Regions from separate parts of the Homo sapiens genome. Here region 1 is linked to region 2. Evidence: promoter capture Hi-C in 16 types of primary human blood cells and fetal thymus (Javierre and others, 2016). All regions are on one chromosome and are shown on one strand. Each heading gives the region's core, a stretch centred on a gene start or on the middle of the fragment in contact. The rest is flanking DNA. Distances are from core to core; before and after follow the strand shown. Region 1 has its middle 58 kb from the start of MYO3A. Region 2 holds the start of GAD2 (glutamate decarboxylase 2).

Region 1 (6,543 bases), core at 940-3,439, 340 kb before region 2:
CTTCCTGCAAAGGAAAACACAGCAGTTTTGCTGAGTCCCTTTAAAAAAAAACAAAAAACAAAAAAAACAAACAAAAAAAACCCAAACTTGTTTTCTAGTAGTCAATCAATTACCAATTTTGGGTGCAGCTGGTGTACCAAAAGTAGGAAAACCAGTTTGCCTCCATATGCAGTTGATGCTTTTACTATCTAAAGCTGACAAGTACTGACCCTGCTAGTAAATTATCTCTCTGCATAAGAACCATAGCTATATTTTCCTAAAAATGAAGATATTATTCATGAAAGGTGAAAATGTAGTTGCTAAGCACATGTGTTCTAGATTTAGATGTCTTGTCAAAACCCTTAGCTCTATCATTTGTTAGCCTGTTTGACCTTAGACAAATTATATGACCTCACTCTACCTCATCTGTAGATTAGGAGTAGTAACAGATTTTGCCCGTAAAATTAAATGAGATACTACATTTGAAGTGCTTACTTACCACACTGCTTGGCCACAGCAAACAGTCAATTAAAGTTTATTATTATTATTGTTTTAGAAGACAAGTCTCCAGCTTTTAAATTGGTAATACATAGAATTCCTAGGCAAAATTATTATTAATAAAATAGTATTATTTTATTATAAAATTTGTGACATTATTTTATTATAAAAGTTCAGGATGGAAAGCCTTCTCAAACATTTGTTTTATTGTGGATTCTTCTAGAAGTAGAATTGTTCAAACCTGGGCATTCGGATGGTAGTTTAAGGTGGCTGAAATGAAGGTCTAGTTATGCCTTGTCTTACAAATTTCAGGCTAAAACTATTTTGCCCCTGGCAATGAAATAGAACCATGGAAAATCTATTAATTGACCACTTATCTGTACAATTAGAAAAATTCAGAACTGTCTGGAAACGATCTTGGCCCAAATTTTGGTTCCTCTCTCAGCTCACCTCAGAACACTAGCATGGATTCTGGTTACGAAAGAGCCCCTCTTGGCTCCTCAGTTTCCATATTTGGATCTTAACCAACCCTTAGTTGATCATGATTAAGAAAGATAATTTGGAACCAGATGCAGTGGGTCATGCCTGTAATCCCAGTGCTTTGGAAGGCCAAGGAGGGAGGATTGCTTGAGAACAGCCTGGGCAACATAGTGAGACCCAGTCTCTACAAAAAAAAAAGAATTAAAAAATTAGCCAGGCATGAGCCTGTAGTCCTAACTACTTGGGAGGCTGAGGTGAGAGGTTCACTTGAGCCTAGGAGTTTGACGTTGCTGGCAGTGAGCTATGATGGCACACTTCAGCCTGGCAGACAGACCAAGACCCTGTCAAGAAAAAGAAAAAGAGAAGAGAAGAAGAGAGGAGGGAAAGGAAAGGAAAGGAAAGGAAAGGAAGGGAAGGGAAGGGAAGGGAAGGGAAGGGAAGGGAAGGGAAGGGAAGGGAAGGGAAGGGAAGGGAAGGGAAGGGAAGGGAAGGGAAGGGAAGGGAAGGGAAGGGAAGGGAAGGGAAGGGAAGGGAAGGGAAGGGAAGGGAAGGGAAGGGAAGGGAAGGGAAGGGAAGGGAAGGGAAGGGAAGGGGGAAGGGAGGGGAAGGATAGGGAAGGGAAGGGAAGGGAAGGGATGGGAAGGGAAGGGAGAAGGAAGGTGAGTTGGTTCTCACCTATAAGCAAAGAACTAGCTCTTGTCCAGAAGCTTCCTCGAGAACACAACCTAGTGTTCACTGCCCTTCAAATAACTAAACACAGTGTGCAAGGTGGAATGCTTACATATGTCTCTGATGCAGAAGTTTAGCAAAGAGGAAGATACCTATAATTCGACTCTTCCAGAGAGTATTGTTTAGACAAACTGTAGATTATTGTAATGTCATAAACCTATACAAGAGCCTTATAAGAAAAGGCCACAAATGCATTATGATGACATGATTTATGTTATACCTTGTCCTATGAGGAATCCTGGAGAAATTCTTGTCTGACCCTAGAATCAAAAAGACTTGGAATTTTACTGAGCTGTTGTATTTGCTTTTAATTTCATGAACACTCTGAGTCAGATCTGTTCTGGTTTCCTTTTTGACCCTGCCTGGGAACGCTGTAGTGGGCTTTCAGCTGTCCACAAATTTCTGCCTCCTCTCCTTACACATGGAAGACCTGACTTTTCCCCTCTCTTGTGGGTAGAGACATGAGGCAAGTTCTGGCCAATGAGAGTGAGTAGAAATGATGTGATCAGAGCATTTAATTGCTAATGCAAGATTTTTCAAAGCTCTTCCCCTCTGCCATGGTGGCAGGCAGTGTGAGTGACAATGGCTGCTCCATTCGCTTAGAAACCAAAAATAAGCCTGAGATCTGTAACGAAAGAGAAATTAAAGCACTGTTGTCAAAAACTCCTGAGATTTGGGAGCTGTCTTTACCATAGTAGAACCTGGTGCATCCTGATTAATACACAGCTAAATATATCATCGATGGGAGGATGGTCAGTTGTTATTTTACATGTATTTTGATTTAATTTCTTGATCACTTTGCCTCACCCTTGTTATCTTTTCTCATCCAATGCAGCCTAATGTTTTCAATTTTGTCATATTTTATGAGTTCTTGTAAGTCAACTTTGAGAATAGATGGGAAATGATTAAGTTAACTTAACGAATTTATGTGAACCCTGGAGAAACACCTCAGGGTGAGTTGGCTATGCAGGATAAACAGATTTTAAGTACAGCTGCTCTGGAAATTGTTTTCTTAACAGAGAAAATACCTAAGCTTAGGACTAGTAGCTGCATTTCCAGAGGGATGCACTAGAGGGCGCGTGGAGCTTGGTGTGCTCGACAGTCACGGTACCCTTTGGCCTTCTTGGGTACACTGAGAAGAGATATTGTCAAGGGATTATGGCGGGAGTTTTTGTTTGCATGATTTCCTATATTCGAAATTTCAGAAACTGGTATTGATTTACTTTCTTTTTATGCAAAATTGACCCTAAGAAAAATGAGGTTATAAAAATGTTCACTTGTCTGTAACATTATTTTATTATAAAATGTTAGAATTGAAGAGCATCTTAATGGAGGTTTATGGAGTCTTTCTTCACATCAGGAATTATTTTTCAATGCAGAATTCCACCCAAACTTATTCAATGTTCTGCTAATTTTCTGACCTCTTCCCTCAAAATTAACATGTCCTAGCTTCTATTTCCTAGGAGGGGCTTATTAAGTGGCCAGTTTGTTAATCTGGTTATCTAATTTGAAACAAAATGTTAATGGCTAACAATACCTTAGCTATTAACCATACCTACCTGTCCAGATAGAATTGTTTTTAACTGGCTGTAACATCAACATAAAAGGGAACAACATGGGTAAGTGTGGGAGTGGATTCCAGGTGTCAGTTTCATAAGCAACCTCCTGTATGATATTCATCCAAGACAACAGCTTTATTCTCAGGAGAATTACTACTCATATAATAAGTTAAATCTGGTATGATATTCATCCAAGACAACAGCTTTATTCTCAGGAGAATTACTACTCATATGCTAAGTTAAAATGTCATTAAATATTTTATAGAGGAATTTTGTTGTTCGGATTCCCTGTTTGAGGTTAATGCTACTTACTGCTTCTGGAGTTTTGGTAGGTTATAAGCTGTTTCTGTGGTTGTTCAGATCTTTGGTAATAGTAACAGGAATTGGATACAGGGTTGAAATGCATTTGTTAATCTCTAAACATTCTTTTAGTCAATAGCTTTAGCCTCCTTTCTTTTGAGGAAAAGTAAGGATAAATGAAAGAACACAAACTTTGGAGTCAAATAAATCTGGAGTTGGCCGGGTGCGGTGGCTCACGCCTGTAATGCCAGCACTTTGGGAGGCCGAGGTGGGCGGATCACGAGGTCAGGAAATCGAGACGATCCTGGCTAACACGATGAAACCCTGTCTCTAATAAAAATACAGAAAATTAGCTGGGCGTGGTGACGGGTGCCTGTAGCCCCAGCTACTCGAGAGGCTGAGGCAGGAGAATGGCGTGAACCCAGGAGGCGGAGCTTGCAGTGAGCCGAGATCGCGCCACTGCACTCCAGCCTGGGCGACAGAGCGAGACTCCGTCTCAAAAATAAATAAATAAATAAATAAATAAATAAATAAATAAATAAATAAATAAATAAATCTGGAGTTAGATACAAACTATCATCATATCCCAAGTTTTAAATTCCTCAACTGTAAAATGGGGATAAAAAACACATCTCAAAGATTTGGGGGAAGACTTATATCTTATGAAAAGTCCTTGAAATGTCTCAAAAAAATCTGTTTTCCATCAAATCTTTTGTGAAATATGAAACTCATTAATAAAATCAATGTATTTTAATTGCATTTCTGATATACAGAATTGAAATCACATTTCTAGTTAATGTTGGCAAAGTGAGGCAGCTGATAGATGGTTCTAATAATGAGATCCCCAAGGTGGACAGAGTGGACTTGGGTTTGGTGTTAGAACCCAGTGAACAATCAAATTGTGGAAGGTCCTGGCATCCCAGTCTCCCAGTGGGAGTGAGTCAATAGTGAGCCCTTTGACTGGCAGCCTCAGCCTCCCACATGAGCCTTTATTTCTGTCTCAGCTCCATCTGACAAACTCTCATGATTCCACATGAAGAGCAAGTGAAAATTTACACTAAGACAGTCAATAGAGTTTAAATCTTTGTGTTGCTTAGCCACAAGGTTCTTTTTTAAAAATTAGTCTTTTCAATAGAATAGTTAACTGCTCTGAAGGAATGTTTAGTTTTAGGGACATCTCCCAGGTCATGAATTATTATCTCAGTATCTGCTAAAATAACTGTATGCTAAATTAAATTCCATTATTGTAAACTGTCATTTCAAAGTAACTAGTTAAGTGCAACATTTTTTTTTAAACCAGTTAGAATATGTAGACCAGGCTTGGAGGCTCATGCCTATAGTCTTGGCTGCTCGGGAGGCTGAAGCATAAGAGTCCCTTGAGCCCAGGAGCTCAAGATTGCAGTGAGCCATGATCACACCACTGCACTCCAGCCCGGACAACAGTGAGACCCTGTGTCTAAAATAAATAAATACATAAGAATATGAGCCAGAGCCAATAATAGAGATATATACATATATATGAAGAAAAGTTTCTATTTTTAGTGTCTGCTGTGGCAGGGCTCCCCAACCCCCAGGGCACAGATCCGTCCTGATCTGTGGCATATTAGGAACCAGGCTGCACAGCAGGAGGTTAGGGTGGGCAAGTGAGCAAAACTTCCTCTATATTTAGAGATGCTTCCCATCACTCACAGTACCACCTGAGCCCTACCTCCTGTCAGATCAGCAGCAGCATTAGAGTCTCATAGGAGCGTGAACCCTGTTGAGAACCATGTGTGCAAGGGATTTAGTTTGTACAATCTTTAAGGGAATCTAATGCCTGATGATCTGTCACTGACCCTATCACCTCCAGATGGGATAGTCTAGTTGCAGGAAAACAAGTTCAGGGTTCCCACTGATTCTACATTACGGTGAATTATATAATTATTGTATTATATGCTACAATGTAATAATAATAGAAATAAAGTGTACAATAAATGTAATGCACTTCGATCATCCCCAAACCATCCCCCCACCACCCACCCTTGTCTGGAAAAATTGTCTTCCATGAACCCAGTCCCTGGTGCCAAAAAGGTTGAGGACTGCTGTGCTATAGAATGTGCCTTTCAGAAAAAGTTATTTTCCTAGAAAATGATCACTGAAATGTCAACAATTCTAATAACAATCTAAACCACTCTTATCTCCAGAGTGAACACAAAGGGAAATATAAAATTCCATGAAATCCTTGATTCTTTACACTTAATTTTTGTGGAGTCTTGGCTTGATGCTTGATGCTCTTTGCTATAAATCTTTTATGTTTTCATTCATTTCTTGGAGCATGCACTGATTAGATTGAGGAAGTGGGGAACACATTCTCCCTTTGGTTTCTGCCGTGGGTCTCAAAATCATTCTGAGAGGGGAAGAATCTTTTTTATCACTCTCTCTTTAGAGGAACAAGCAGCTCTGCTCAAAGGATTAAATTCCACAACTGCCTTATTATGATACCTTGTTTGAACCAGGGATGGTGGTCAAAACTGATCAAAATGCAATAGTTAACGTGTAATCCCTTGGGTCCCACGGTAACATGTAATTTCATGCATTTCAAATTTAGTTAAGTTTTTACAGCTAAATTTTGAGCTTTTTTATGCTAACTTGTATCATTTTGAATCACATATATATTATTAAGTAAGGTTAAAGGAATCTATGTCATGTAGTAATTCACTCTGTTTTTTGTTGTTGTTGTCGTTGTTTTGCTTGTTTGTTTGTTTTTGAGATGGAGTCTCTGTTGCCCAGGCTGGAGTGCAGTGGCAAGATCACAGCTCACTGCAACTTTTGCCTCCCGGTTTCAAGCGATTCTCCTGCCTCAGGCTCCCAAGAGGACGCTTCTCCACACCCAGCTAATTTTTTGTATTTTTAGTAGAGACAGGTTTCACCATGTTGGCCAGGCTGGCCTCAAACTCCTGACCTCAGGTGATCTGCCTGTCTTGGCCTCCCAAAGTGCTGGGATAATAGGCATGAGCCA
Region 2 (6,003 bases), core at 2,992-5,491:
CGTGGTTTGCGTGACTGATCCCTCATTTTCCCCTCTAGGGCTTCTGAGGGGCTTCTGCTATAAGGCTGTGCTGGTGACGGGCCCAAGGAGGGGCGTTGAGGTGCCTTCATCAGCGAACTCCCAGCACCACCCAGCCACTTCAGACAAACACAATCTAAGCTAAAACCCCTTGCCACACAAACGCAGAGGCCTCCAATGTCTAAATCCCCAACACACCACACGTGCTCGCCTGCACGATGCCTTCCCAATCTGCGTGACTGTCTTTGGCCCCATCTATAAAGATGCTAGTGCCCCCACTGGGTGGAACTGTCAGATTTCAGGTTCTCCCGGTCTGCAGATTTGGGGCCATCTTTGCTACTCCGACTTTGTGTGTATTTAAAATGGGGGAGGCTAGTGGGTGGACAGAAGTTTGCATTCCTGGGTTGACTGCACCTTATTCTAAAACCCGGTTTAAGCTGTTTTATGAAACTGACATTCCCATCTAAGCAACCTGGAGAGGGTGAGGACAGGTGATGAGGTCGTTGCATGGAATTGGAAGAAGGGTTCTGATCACGATGGGGCTCACCCCTTGTGTGGGTGCCCTTGGCTCCTGCACCCACAAGCCGGAGTCAAAAGACTCTGGGGAAATATTCGAGGAGTGAGTGAGGGCATGTGCAGAGGGCTCAGAGCGTTTGTTGCGCCGCTGGTCCACAGGGCATAGTAATCTCGCCAACTCAAAGAGTTGGCACCAAAAGGTCCCCAGAGCCAACTCGTGTAATCTCTTCATTTTACAGATGCAATGTGGCCAAGGGAAAACCTGCAGCTATGGCATGGCAGAGTCCAAGTGCCCTCCAGGCCTTCTTTTTCCCTGGGTTAGCGGCACAGTCTTGCTGGGGTTGCGACTGAAAGTAAGGAGTAACCCTCAGCTGTGCGAATGCACTGAGGAGCTGAGTATGGCCCAGTACCCAGGAAACCAGCACAGCAGGTCACCAGAGAGAGGGGCTTGGGAGGGGCAGGGGTGTCTAAAGCCCAAAGTGGCCTGGCCCCCTTCCACCTCTAGCTGCCTGTCCACTTGCCTCCAGAAGGCCTGGGTTTGTGGGGAGGGCGGAGCAGGGGCCAGGGGTAAGGAGCAGTAAGCTAAGCTCAGCTTTTCTGCCTGGCCACCCTTCAATCTAGGCGTCCTTCTTGGGTGGCCCCTGAAGACAAGAGCCCTGGCACTCAGCCCCTTCTGTTATTTCTGTTGGTGTAGGGAGAATTTATGGAGGGAGGCAACAGACTCCCTCCCTAAATTTTTCCTGCACCAATGTTTTAAGTGAGAATAGAAAAGAGAATGGCAAAGGCTTGGTGAATGCTTGGTTGCAATATTTTTGTGTTCTTCCGTGGTTGTTTCCTCTTTTTCTTTCCATCTTCCCTTCTTTCTCTGTCCTTTGACATTTAAGCACGGGAAGGACACAGGAAAATGTGTGCCAGACACTCTTCTTTGGGTCAGCCTGAGACCCATATGTTGGTAAACCAGACACCTAAGGAAACTGTCCCTACAAGTCGGAGGATTGGGTCTCTCGCCCCTCATCTGAGGAAGGGCCTTCCAAAGCGGCCGCCTTCCCTTCCCATTCACTGGCTGCCTCCTTTGTGAACTAATGACTGTAATTATTACCTCCCAGAGCTCTTTTGTTATCTCCAACCCCAAGCCCCGGAGAGGGGGAATGGGCTCTTTAGTGAAATGAAAGTCATTACAAAGCAAATTACCGTCTAGGGAGGGACAGCCTTCAGGAAAGACAAATCAGATCTCCATCTGCATCTGAAGTAGGGTGTGTTTAAATAAAAAATGTAAATATCACCATTAGATCCAAAGTACTCCAGAGCTGTGGGATTTAATGGAGTTTAAACGGTAGCACTTGAAGCCATTGCTTTACCAAAAAGAAAAAAAAATCAGTTAAATTCAGGTGTTTTAATCCGTTTCTTCTTTGGGGGTTTTGTGTGATTTAAACGCTTGCTTTTAAGAACCTTTATGTTTTCAACCACTCATCCATAGTAGAAAAGTTCTGCAACCCTAGACTGCTGGCTTGAAGGAAAACCTTTGCAGGATTTGATATGGATTTCAACAAAGAACCAGCCTCTGCGAGGCTGGAGAGAGCTGCGGAGCTGCCATGCCTGAAGTGCAGATGGCTGAACCACAAGTCTTTAGGTTTCCGGAGTTGTTATTGTGGTGACCTAGAGTGTCAGAGCCAGGAGAGCAAGAAAGAGGAGCCAAACTGAGCCCTGAGTTTTCGACCACCCGGGCTCCCACAGCCTGGAACAGACTTCACCTAGCACGCTCAGTGCCAGCCTTCGGCAGGACGCTATCAACGCCCGACTGGTTTCCTGCTCTCATCCTGGCGCCTGGGCCCAGTTGCCATAGTGTGGATCCCATGACTCCTCAGGGAACCCCTGGACTCAGGCACGCGAGAAGAAGACAGCGCTTTGTGGAGAGAATTGACCAGGGACAGTTATGCTCGAGCACACAGGACTTGGGCCTGTATGCGTCCAGCATGGGCCCCAGGATGTCCCTTCTAAGCGAGGGTCGAGGGGTGCTCGCCCAGACGGGATCCCCGGGTCTCTGCTTTGTTAGCAGCTTTGGTGGCTGGTTCAGGAGGTCAGAGAAATAAAACGACTTGTGAACACAATGGAAATGACAGGCGCTCTGGCCAGGCGCGGGGAAGGCAGCCGCCTCGGGAAGCCGACCTCAGCCCTTTCCTCTCTCTCCCTCCCTCCGTCTCCCCCAGAGCCCCGGAGCTCCGAGGTGCACTTGAAGTTCATCTCCACTGCCAGGAGAACGCAGCGCAAACTGTCAAAGGGCTCCCAATCCTTAGGGCGTCCTCCCTGTCTGCAATAGCTTTTTGTAGAAAGGAAATCATCAGAACGATTCTGACTTTCTCCTCCTTTCTTTATTAGAAAAAGAGAAACCGCCTCCTAATACGCCTCAGAGAGAACCAATCTCGCGCTTCCGGGTCACCCGCTACCGCGAAGATTCTCTGGGGGCGAGGGGGGGCATTGGTTTGAAGCCCCTTAAAACGAGGGCCCTGCAGGCGATGCCTTCTTTCCTACTCGGATTTGTAAAGCCGAGATTGCTTAGTTGGAAACCCTGTTCTCCCCTCCCAGGCGCACACAGATCCCCCTTACACGCAAGCAGCGGGCGCTTCCACGCCTCCGCGGGCCAAGGTCACCAAATGCCCTGATTCCATCCCCCACCCGCCATCAATCCTGCCGACTCTGGCCGCTCTGCCTCATTCTCTTCCAAGAAGTTTCCATTCGTTTTATTTTTTTTTCCCCAGCCCGAGGTCCTCAGTAGACTCCAGCGTGGATTTTAATTGCCTCAATCAGCAGTCATTCTCCCCAGCCGTCACTCAGAGCCTGGACGGTGGGTCCCGCGATCTAGCCCTTGGCTACGCAGGAACGGTGCGCCCCCGGGTACGGCGCGGTTCAGCAGGCAGGCGTCAGGTTCTACCAAGGCGCTGAAATGAGCCCATCAGCGGGTAGGAGCCCTTCCCCCGCCGTCCCCTCCCCAGGCTCGTGAACGGCGCCTGATGCCCGCCCGGGGCGCGAGCTCTCGAGGTCGCAGTGACCTCAGCACCTGCTTGGAGGAAAACGGCGCGGGAACCCCGCTTCCTTCCCCTCAGCTGGAGCCAGACCTCAAACAAAACCCCAATCGATGCACACAGAAAACTCCTCTGGGCCACGCTTCCCGCCTCGCCGAGGTCTCCCCAGTCTGCCCCTCGCTGACGCTGGCGCGCAGCGGCTGTGGCAGCACCCGGGACAGCGGCCGCCCGCACTTCCCGCCTCTGGCTCGCCCGAGGACGCGCTGGCACGCCTCCCACCCCCTCACTCTGACTCCAGCTGGCGTGCATGGTCTGCCTCGCATCCTCACGACTCAGCTCCCTCCCTCTCTCGTGTTTTTTTCCTCCGCCGCCCCCTCATTCATCCCCACTGGGCTCCCTTTCCCTCAAATGCTCTGGGGCTCTCCGCGCTTTCCTGAGTCCGGGCTCCGAGGACCCTTAGGTAGTCCCGGTCTCTTTTAAAGCTCCCCGGCTTCCAAAGGGTTGCCACGTCCCTAAACCCTGTCTCCAGCTCGCATACACACACGCACAGACACGCACGTTTTCTGTTCCTGCGTGACACCCGCCCTCGCCGCTCGGCCCCGCCGGTCCCCGCGCGGTGCCCTCCTCCCGCCACACGGGCACGCACGCGCGCGCAGGGCCAAGCCCGAGGCAGCTCGCCCGCAGCTCGCACTCGCAGGCGACCTGCTCCAGTCTCCAAAGCCGATGGCATCTCCGGGCTCTGGCTTTTGGTCTTTCGGGTCGGAAGATGGCTCTGGGGATTCCGAGAATCCCGGCACAGGTAGGAAGGAGAACGGGGGCCTGCGGCGGGCGAGTTTTGCGGTGGTCTGGGGTTTGCGGAACTACGGAGAAGACGAAGGAGGTTTTTCCACCTGCAACAGGAAACTTCTTCGGGCGCTTCTCCCTGCTTTTGGGCTAAGTCCTTGACGGCCCAAGAGCTCAAGACCTCTACAGCCTCTTGTACCCTGGGAAGACGCCCAAATAGTCTCAGGCCCGTTCCACAGAAGGTTGGAAGAGCCCCCCAAAGACCGCGGTGTCTCGGGGACATGGAATTCCGTGGTCCTGGGGCGCTGCTAAGATCCGGGTGTCTGGACCCTGGGGTGGGACGGAGTGACCGTGAAGATAGAAAAAAAAAATGGGAAAGGTGAGAGATTTCTTTATCTAGAAAGACAGTCTGCGAAAAAATGGATAGCTTCAGTGTTTAGGAAAACTCGTCCAAGGTAGGCAGGGAGAGGAATTTGCCTGAGCCGATTGGCACCTGGAAGGGCAGCGGTGTGGGCTTCTCCTCGGGAAACAGATAAAGGAAATGAGGGCTGGCCCGGGCCGCCAGCCTCCCGCTTGCCTTCTGCACCTGCCGGCCTCACCGAGTCCTGAGCGGCCCCCAGGAGGAAGGCGGCCCCTCCTAGGACCCCGGACTGATTGATTTTCACATAGAACGAAATTTCACACGTCCGTCTGTTGTTCTCTTTCTGCCTCGCTGTCTGCCTGCCTATTCTTCCTTGCAGCGCGAGCCTGGTGCCAAGTGGCTCAGAAGTTCACGGGCGGCATCGGAAACAAACTGTGCGGTGAGTGCCCAGGGACCGGGGCGGCCAAGGTCGGCCCGCGGGGTCCAAGCAGTCTTCTCACCTCCGCATCCCAGTCAGCGGAGTCGGGGTTTCCTGGCTGCGGGTAGGCGGGAGCGAGGGAGCCGGGCCCGGCGGAGGATTGACGAGGCCCGCGTTCGGTGTCCTTACCCAGCCCTGCTCTACGGAGACGCCGAGAAGCCGGCGGAGAGCGGCGGGAGCCAACCCCCGCGGGCCGCCGCCCGGAAGGCCGCCTGCGCCTGCGACCAGAAGCCCTGCAGCTGCTCCAAAGTGGATGTCAACTACGCGTTTCTCCATGCAACAGGTAAAGACTCAGCGGGGAGCCCCGGGGCGCCCCTGCCCCTCTCTCTGCCCCGCCCACCGCGGCCGGTGCGGGTCCGGCGCTGAGAGCCGGACAGGGGCGTCGAGGTGGCAGCGGAGGCGGGACCTGCCAGAATCTTCAGATAAAAGCGAGAAATGCGGGACCTGCCCGCTGGGTCCAAGCCCCCGAACCTGGCCTCGGAGCTCCAAGAGGGCTCTGAGGCCGTGGCGCTCTTCCCCCAGCGCGGCCCTTGGGATGGCGGGTGGCCGACGATCCAGGCGCTCGTGCGCTCACTGAATCGATGACGGCTGGCTTCCCTAGGCCGCTGGGGCCTCGGGTGGGACTCAGTTTCCAAATACCGTGCCCGAGAATTCAGAATTGCATTTTTTTTAGGTCTTTAGATCACGAGAGTGATTTGTAGCTGCAATTGCACAAGAGAACGATTCCATTCACATGAAACCCGCGCGCCGAGTTTTACCCCCGTGCACTTACACACCGTCTCCCAAATGTACGCGCGCACACACACATGCAGACACACATGCATACG

Evidence for each region. The method cuts DNA at HindIII sites, captures the fragments that hold promoters and counts their contacts. A CHiCAGO score of 5 or more calls a contact.
Region 1: a fragment that was not itself captured here is called in contact with the fragment with the promoter of GAD2 in region 2 in 1 of 17 cell types (total B cells); the score reaches 5.8 in total B cells.

Annotation. Positions count from the first base shown.
Region 1 is chr10:25,873,000-25,879,542 of GRCh38, forward strand. No RefSeq gene overlaps it. Among named protein-coding and RNA genes, the nearest start is that of MYO3A, 58 kb to the right of the region's middle. RefSeq lists a silencer at 2,666-2,845. The HindIII fragment of the contact is 1,055 bases long and covers 1,663-2,717 here.
Region 2 is chr10:26,212,533-26,218,535 of GRCh38, forward strand. GAD2 (glutamate decarboxylase 2) reads left to right here and starts at 4,242. Exons shown (of 16, transcript NM_001134366.2): 1 at 4,242-4,353; 2 at 5,078-5,137; 3 at 5,310-5,459. The coding sequence starts at 4,278. RefSeq lists enhancers at 1,256-1,823, 1,824-2,389, 2,390-2,956, 5,566-6,003. The HindIII fragment of the contact is 6,458 bases long and covers 1-6,003 here.